Regions from separate parts of the Homo sapiens genome. Here region 2 is linked to region 1. The links are contacts of gene promoters, found by promoter capture Hi-C in human tissues and cell types (Jung and others, 2019). All regions are on one chromosome and are shown on one strand. Each heading gives the region's core, a stretch centred on a gene start or on the middle of the fragment in contact. The rest is flanking DNA. Distances are from core to core; before and after follow the strand shown.

Evidence for each region. Contacts are between HindIII fragments. The study calls those that stand out against the background at their distance.
Region 2: a fragment that was not itself captured here is called in contact with the fragment with the promoter of EIF2AK2 in region 1 in 1 of the 25 tissues and cell types used here (pancreas).

Annotation. Positions count from the first base shown.
Region 1 is chr2:37,155,639-37,160,073 of GRCh38, reverse strand. It overlaps EIF2AK2 (eukaryotic translation initiation factor 2 alpha kinase 2), which reads left to right and starts at 3,094. Exons shown (of 17, transcript NM_001135651.3): 1 at 3,094-3,166. RefSeq lists silencers at 2,795-2,984, 3,185-3,304 and an enhancer at 3,035-3,164. The HindIII fragment of the contact is 10,738 bases long and covers 1-4,435 here.
Region 2 is chr2:36,988,186-36,992,268 of GRCh38, reverse strand. HEATR5B (HEAT repeat containing 5B) reads left to right here. Exons shown (of 36, transcript NM_019024.3): 34 at 1,470-1,621; 35 at 3,410-3,623. Among named protein-coding and RNA genes, the nearest start is that of STRN, 24 kb to the right of the region's middle. The HindIII fragment of the contact is 5,900 bases long and covers 1-4,083 here.

The DNA.
Region 1 (4,435 bases), core at 1,845-4,344:
CTTCTTGGGGTCCATGGTTAGGAAGTAAGTGACTAGGTTGCATAAGATGAATCTACTCCAATATTCCTGACTCCCTAAGTATTTTTGATTTCTTCATCTGCATTACTTGGCATTACATTTACATTTAGTGTGAGCTGCCACTGAGCTGATATTATAGTAAACCAACTGGGCAAACTGGCTTAGCGCTCCCACTGCTAGAGGCAGTACATCAACTTTCTTTCTTTTTTTTTTTTTTTTCTTGCTCTGTTGCCAGGCTGGAGTGCAGTGGCACGATCTTGGCTCATTGCAACCCCGACTCCCTGGTTCAAGCGATTCTCCTGCCTCAGCCTCCCAAGTAGCTGGGATTACAGGCACATGCCACCACGCCCAGCTAATTTTTGTATTTTTAGTAGAGACGTGGTTTCACCATGTTGGCCAGGATGGTCTCAATCTCCTGACCTCATGATCCGCCCACCTCGGCCTCCCAAAGTGCTGGGATTACAAGCATGAGCCACCGCGCTCAGCCTCAACTTTCAGCTTTCTTCACGTCATCTTTAGACTCATTGCCATGTCTATTTCTTGCTTTCTGTTGCTCTTTTGTTGTGTAAAGCATCACCCCTCCATCAGATCTTGTCCATATCCTCTTGGGGCGCATTAGCATCTGATTCTAGTTCTAGGAGTGAAGGCACAGGTAGAGATAGGATATTTGGAGAATCAGCACCTCCTTGCAGGGTGACTGTTTCATGCTTTTTAATGTAGGCTGTACCAGCCTTATCAGACAATGGTGGGAAGCCTGTGGAGACACAGCAGAATTTAGGAGGGCAGTGGCACTTGGATTCATTCAAATCCACCCAAATTCCCAGGGCTTCTTTCTTTCACAATCAATGCCCTCAGTGTTCACAGAAGAGACCTGATGAGGCTGCAAATGAAAATTTTTGTTGTAATTCTAGGCTGGGCGCGGTGGATCACGCCTGTAATCTCAGTACTTTGGAAGGCCGAGGTGGGGGAATCACTTGAGGTTAGGAGTTCCAAACCAGGCTGGCCAATATGGTGAAACCCCTTCTCTACTAAAAATACAAAAATTAGCTAGGTGCGGTGGCACACGCCTGTAATCCCAGTTACTTGGCAGGCTGAGGCAGGGAAATTGCTTGAGCCCGGGAGCCAGAGGTTGTAGTGAGCCAAGATTGTGCCACTGCACTCCAGCCTCGGCAACACAGCAAGACTCTGTCTCAAAACAATTATATTGTAATTCTGGTGCCTGCAGCACCAAGCTTTGCAGCTGAGAGCCCAGACAGTAGGGAATTGGGCTCCTCAGGGAGTCCAATATGCTCACACTTTACCCATTCCAAGAGGTTCACCCATATCATATCATTCCCCTGGACCTCATCACCAACCCTCTGATATCATTCCTTCCAAATCTTTCCCCAGCAGAGAAGGCAGATTTTTACATCACCCCTGAGGCTCCCTGAAATAGGAGGGTTTTCTGGTACAGTCATAAAAGCGTGTGTCCTCTGATCATGCTTAAGCTTGCCATTTTTCATTCTTTAAGCTCTCTTGGGCAGTTCAGGGGCTCAAAAAGTCAGAAAAACTTGTCCTTGCTACTGCCATTGCTGCTGCCACAGCCATCCCACACCCACAAAGCTGACAAATGGACACACAGCACTGTCAGAGTTTTCTTGTCACCTGGAAATGCCACAAAAAGATGGCTCTGCCTCATGTCTACCTTCTAAACCTCCCGCCAGTGCTTTACATATAGGGGACTTAAGCTATGCCCAGGACCAGAGCTACAAGGAAAGTGTAGATTTTAGTTGTTGATACCCTGCAATGTGGGGTTGTTGGGGGATGGAGAAGGGAGGCTGGAGAGGATGCCTGCCTAGGTGTAATTTTTTTTTTTTTTTTTTGAATTGGAGTCCCACTCTGTCACCCAGGCTGGAGTGTAGTGGCATGATCTCAGCTCACTACAATCTCTGCCTCCCAGGTTCAAGCAATTCTCCCTGCCTCAGCCTCTGGAGTAGCTGGGATTACAGGTGCCTGCCACCACGCCCAGCTAATTTTTGTGTTTTTTAGTAGAGACGGGGTTTTGCCATGTTGGCCAGGCTGGTCCTGAACTCCTGACCTCAGGTGATCCGCCCGTCTCAGCCTCCCAAATTTCTGGGATTACAGGCATGAGCCACCGCGCCGGCCTAGGCATAATATTTAATGTATATTTGAGGTCTGTCTTTGGACCACCTTCCTCTCTTATCCCAGCTAAGATACTGAGAGTACAAACTCCTGGTTATAATTCTAACTCCGCTGCTTACTACCTGTGTTAATCCAAATTCTCTGTGCCTCAATACTCATTAGTCACTGTGCCAATGAACTCTGGAACTCTGTGTGACTCTGGGAGTGTGTCGCAGTCCATCAGGTGAGTAGAATTTCTATAAATCGAGGACTACTGGTGTTGGACTATGGTAGGAAGCTCCCTGGGGTACTGTAGGAAGCAGGTGTCTCTATTTAGCAGCAGGACTGGCCCACAGGTGCTTTTACAGCGGCTGGCAAGTGTCTGCTCATGAATGAATGGATGGGTGGGAGCGGAGTGAAGGAGATTACGCCCCCAGGCCTCTGATCCCCAGGCTTGTAAAGGTGAGGGGGCCGCGGTGTGGCAAGAGGGAAAGAGTGCTTTGGTGTTTACAGGCCCCGACTTGAACTGAATCCTGGCTTTGCCACTTACGAGCGGCAGGACCCCTGGGTGAGTTCATTTACTCAGTTTCCTCTATTGTAGAATGGAGCTGGTAAGATCCATCTTCCCAACCCCACCCCAAATATTTGTGTTGAGAGTAAGTGGAACCCTTGATTCGAGAACCTAGTGCGGCCAGCGGACTAGGCCAGCGGAGAACCCTAGGAGCCCCGGGGGCGGGGGATGGGGGTGCAGGGTCCTGGCCGTGCAGGGGCAGCACGTGGGTGCCAAGCCCGCCTGCCGGTGCCAAGCCCGCCCGCCGGTGCCAAGCCCGCCCGCCAGTGCCTCTCGCGCGCACTCTGGATCCAGCGCCAATTTACCCCAATCCCGTAGCAGACGAGGGCTTGTGCGAGAGGGGGCCGGGCGGCTGCAGGGAAGGCGGAGTCCAAGGGGAAAACGAAACTGAGAACCAGCTCTCCCGAAGCCGCGGGTCTCCGGCCGGCGGCGGCGGCGGCGGCGGCGGCGGCGCAGGTGAGCAGGGCAGGGGGCAGCCGAGGGAGCGCGGGGAGCGGGGGCCGGGGGGCCACGTACGAGGGGCTGCAGGCCCAGCCGGGGCGGGACTCGCCAATCCTGCGTCCCCAGCTCAGGACGCGGACGCTGATCCGAAGCCCCTGGCCCCGGCTGGGTCAGCACTGGGAGAGCAGGCCCAGGTCCGCAGCCCGGGTGTGGGGCCCTCCCCAAATCCAGGGAAAGGATCGTGGAGCGGGGTGGGGACTGAAAGCCATTTCCTTCCCGTGAAGAATTTTTATCAGTGCAAGTAACAAATATTTCCCAGGCAGCAGTTGTGGGGCGGGGTCTAGTGGAAGACGAATAGGCCTAGTGGCTTGACACATGGAAAATACGGAGGCCTGAAATACTCATAGACTGGCTGAACAATCTTTGGCTAAAAATCTCTTCCGTGGAGAGTTGCAGTAGTTTCCCAATTGCCTGGCCGCAGTTCCTGTTCCCACTCCGTATCCTCACCCCTGAACCTCCACCCCCTACCTCTTCTCCACACCTCAGCATCTGGAATGTTCCTTTAAGTAAGAACCAGACTCTCCCCTGCTCCGACCTTCCCCGTAGCTTTCCTGTCTCATCAGAATCCTATAAACATTTATTAAGGCTCACAGGCAAGGCCCCTCGCACCCCCTACTCCGGCCACGCTGGCTTCCTTGCTGTTCCTGGTGCACAGCCAAGCATCCTCCAGCCTCTAGGCCTTTGCACTGCTTGTTTCTTCTTTCTGGAAAGCTTCTTCCCCAGATAACTGCATGGGGAAATCCCTCCCTTATCCTGCACTGCTTCCCATGCCAGCTTATCAGAGCAGCCTTCCTCAAACAACCTGCCTATACAAGAAACCCCGCTCTGCCCTTGCTGTTCCCCCTTCCACTACTTCGGTTGTCAACATAGTAGTTATCACCTGGTGACATTTTCTTTCTTTTCTTTTCTTTTTTTTTTTTTTTGAGACAGATTCTCACTCTGTCGCCAGGCTGGAATGCAGTGGCACGATCTGGGCTCACTGCAACCTCTGCCTCTCAGGTTCAAGCGATTTTCCTTCCTCAGCCTCCCAGGTAGCTGGGACTACAGGTGCCCGCCAGCACAGCCAACTAATTTTTTTATTTTTAGTAGAGACAGGGTTTCACCGTGTTGGCCAGGCTGTATGTAGTCTGCTGGAAAGGAAGTGGAGGCATAGCCAAAATAATTTCTGGGCATTAGTAAGATGGACAAATATTATTTTTTAGTGATTATGATGGAGGTTTCTTC
Region 2 (4,083 bases), core at 569-3,068, 170 kb after region 1:
AGGTTATTATAAATTGATTAAATCCTTCAAATTTTACATCTCTTTTGTTTGTTTTTTTGTTTGTTTGTTTTGAGACTGAGTCTCACTCTGTCACCCAGGCTGGAGTGCAGTGGCGCAATCTTGGCTCACTGCAACCTCTGCTTCCCGGATCCAAGCAATTCTGTAGCCTCAGCCTCCCAAATAGCTGGGATTACAGGCGTGTGCCACCATGCCCAGCTAATTTTTGTATTTTTAGTAGAAATGATGTTTCACCATGTTGTCCAGTCTGTTCTAGAAATCCCAAAGTGCTGGAATTACAGGCATGAGCCACCACACCCAGCCGACATCTCTTTTTTTAAACTTTATTTCTTTACATTAAGTTAATGGACTTTTTCTAGACTATTGTTCTTAACCCTTTATTCCATATTACAAAAAGCTGGTACCCTTATTATGAGATAATGTTAGCATGTCACATATATATGTTTGTAATCCTTCTAAAGTACTGATTATCACTGGGTATTTACAGTTGCCAAAATAGGTCAAATTTACACAAAAGATAGGGATCAGTTTTATTGAAGAAATGATAATCACAAAATGTTTGGAACTCGTATTTTATATGTTCAGAAATATTGTTCTTTAGAATAAATGTTCATATTTCTAGTTATTTCTAATTACGTACTATATTTCTGTTCAAGTTGTATCTATTCCTGAATAAATGTAATGGCAAGAAATTCCTTAAAATTCTTAGAACACTGTCTTCAGGAAATTGTCCAAGTTTTTTTTTTTTTTTTTTTGAGACAGAGTTTCGCTTTTGTTGCCCAGGCTGGAGTGCAATGACACAATCTTGGCTCACTGCAACCTCCACCTCCCCGGTACAAGCGATTCTCCTGCCTCAGCCTCCCAAGTAGCTGGGATTACAAGCATGCACCACCATGCCCAGCTAATTTTGTGGTCAGGCTGGTCTCGAACTCCCAACCTCAGGTGGTCCGCCTGCCTCGGCCTCCCAAAGTGCTGGGATTACAGGCGTGAGCCACTGCACCCAACCGATTTTTTTAATGGTTATATGGAATTTACAGGTTTTCATATTTACTAAATTGAAAGGAGATATCACTTAAAAATGTACTCTGGATTTTAAAATTAGTTAGAATATTTTATAATAATTTAGCATTAAATATAACTGCATACATTTAACTTTATACATTGAACTTCTTACAGTTGTCTGTGGACTGTATTAGATTAAGGCAAGTACTACTATAAATGTTGTGGGGAGAGAGAGATGATTGTTCAAGATTAAAATTCTGGCCAGGCACAGTGGCTGACACCTGTAATCCCAGCACTTTGGGAGGCCAAGGCAGGAGGATCACTTGAGCTCAGGAGTTCAAGACCAGCCTGGACAACATGGCAAGACAACGTCTCTCTCTACAAAAATAAAAAAATAAAATGCCAAAATGTTTTAGAAACAGCACACTTCTTTCATTTTTCATTTTCAGAAGACTCTGTACCTACACCTGATGAAGTAAGCATGCTAACAGCAATTGCACTCTTCCTGTGGTCTGCTAGTAATGAAATAATAGGAGTCCAGTCATTACAGAATGGCTGCATGAACAGATTTAAAAATGCATTAAATTCATGCGACCCATGGGTAAGTTACACGTTACACAGACATAGATAAAAACATTTCCCTTTATCAGGAAAATGTCAGATTGATTCATTAAAATATGTGATACATAATGAAAAGCTAAGTATTTGCACTATGGCTTTTAAATGGAAAAACTGAAACAAATCACTGGGTTTAAGCACTAGAACACATGTGTATGTTTATTCACATATGTAGAAATTCTTCAATATCTGAAATATTTGATTAACCCCAGGGCATACTGGTAGAGACAAGAGTCTATGATTATGTTTTCCAGTGTTTATTTAAATGACGCTAAGGACATTAAAGGAGAAGCTTATATTATTGACGTTTTAATGAACCTGCTAGAAACTAGTTTGTCTAGAAAGTAAGATTTTTTATTTTACAATGTCAGAGTCTAAACTTGATTCTCAAGCCTGCTACACGTCAGAAATTTTAAAAAGCAGAAACATTCTTGAAGACCAGGTGCGGTGGCTCACGCCTGTAATCCCAGCACTTAGGGAGGCCAAGGCAGGCAGATCAGGAGGTCAGGAGTTCGAGACCAGCCTGTAGTGAAACCCCATCTCTACTAAAAATACAAAAAAAATAGCCAGGTGTGGTGGCATGCGCCTGTAATCCCAGCTACTTGGGAGGCTGAGGCAGGAGAATCACTTGAACCCAGGAGGTGGAGTGAGTTGAGATTGTGCCATTGCACCACTCCAGCCTGGGCAACAGTGTGAGACTCCGTCTCAAAAAAAAAAAAAAAAAAAAAAAAGGAAACATTCTTGGATTCCAGTACTGTCTTCCTGAATCTGAGTCTCCAGATAGGTGGCTCCAAGATCTGTATATTTAAAATGTTCTTCAGGTTTTTCTTGTGTCTAGCCATATTTAGCCACTTGTGTTCTACCAAAGCACTGAAATGGTTTTCTTCCACTGTGTCCCATATATTGGTGGGACTTCCCTCCCTCTCTTCCTTCTTTCCTTCCTTCATTTTTTTAAAAAAGTGTTAATCTGAAGCCTTTCTAATACAAAGTGGAGCCAGTAAGACTTTATTTTCTAGGTCTGGAAACCTTACATTGTTAACAGTCATTTCCAGGGAATCAAGTGGTTTTGAGATATCTAAGCAATGTATTTTTATAGCTTTGTTTCAGATCATTCAAATATTTAACCTTCCTTAGTAAATATATTTGGTTAAAATGGGAGGGACAATTGTACATTAAAGGAAGAATTAAAAACAGAAGTGGGAATAACTGATTTCTAACTTATTTCACAGTATTAAAATATGGGAATTGGCCGGGCATGGTGGCTCACACCTGTAATCCCAGCACTTTGGGAGGCCAAAGCGGGCAGATCACAAGGTCAGGAGATTGAGAGCGTCCTGACCAACATGGTGAAACCCCGTCTCTACTAAAAATACAAAAATTAGCTGGGTGTGGTGGTGCGCACCTGTAATCCCAGCTACTTGGGAGGCTGAGGCAGGAGAATCGCTTGAACCCGGGAGGCAGAGATTGCAGTGAGCCAAAATGGTGCCACTGCACTCTAGCCTGGCGACAGAGCGAGACTCCATCTCAAAAAAAGAAAAAAGAAATACAGGAATTGTATAAGCATGGTGATTTGGTCATTAAAATATATGAACATTTTTGACTAATTTTTGTCACAAAATTCTATTCTACTCCATTTCTCTAAGTAGAAAATGTAATTTCCATTTTTGTCCTGCAGTATCACTTATTTTCAGTACATAGTAAGATGCAATGTGATTGTAGAGCAAATAAGAACTATACACATGTTAATTGATAATATGTTCTTCTTATATAGGTTCAAGCCAAATGTTACCAGCTTCTCCTCTCAGTCTTCCAGCATTCCAATCGTGCCCTTTCAACTCCTTATATTCATTCATTAGCTCCAATAGTGGTTGAAAAGCTAAAAGCTGTTGAAAGAAACAGACCAGCCAGTAACATAGAGCTTTTAGCGGTTCAAGAAGGAATAAAAGTTCTTGAAACACTGGTTGCTCTTGGTGAAGAACAAAACAGTAAGTATATTCTTATAAAAAGCTACTAGTTCAGAATGAAGATCTGTATTGTATATAAATCTTATTTGATATTAGAAACAGGCCTGCTGGGCGCAGTGGCTTACACTTTGGGAGTCCCAGCACTCTGGGAGGCCAAGGTGGGTGGATCACGAGGTCAGGAGATCGAGACCATCCTGGCCAACATAGTGAAACCTGATCTCTACTAATAATACAAAAATTAGCTGGGTGTGTGGCGCACACCTGCTGTCCCAGCTACTTGGGAGGCTGAAGCAGGAGAATCACTTGGACCCGGGAGTTGGAGGTTGCAGTGAGCCGAGATCATGCCAGCGCACTCCAGCCTGGCAACAGAGCGAGACTCCATCTCAAAAAAAAAAGAAAAGAAAAAAAACCAGGCCTTTGCTTCTGTTACATAATGTAGTGAGTTGATTTTTTTCTTTGTTTGTTTTTGAGCAGGAAGTTC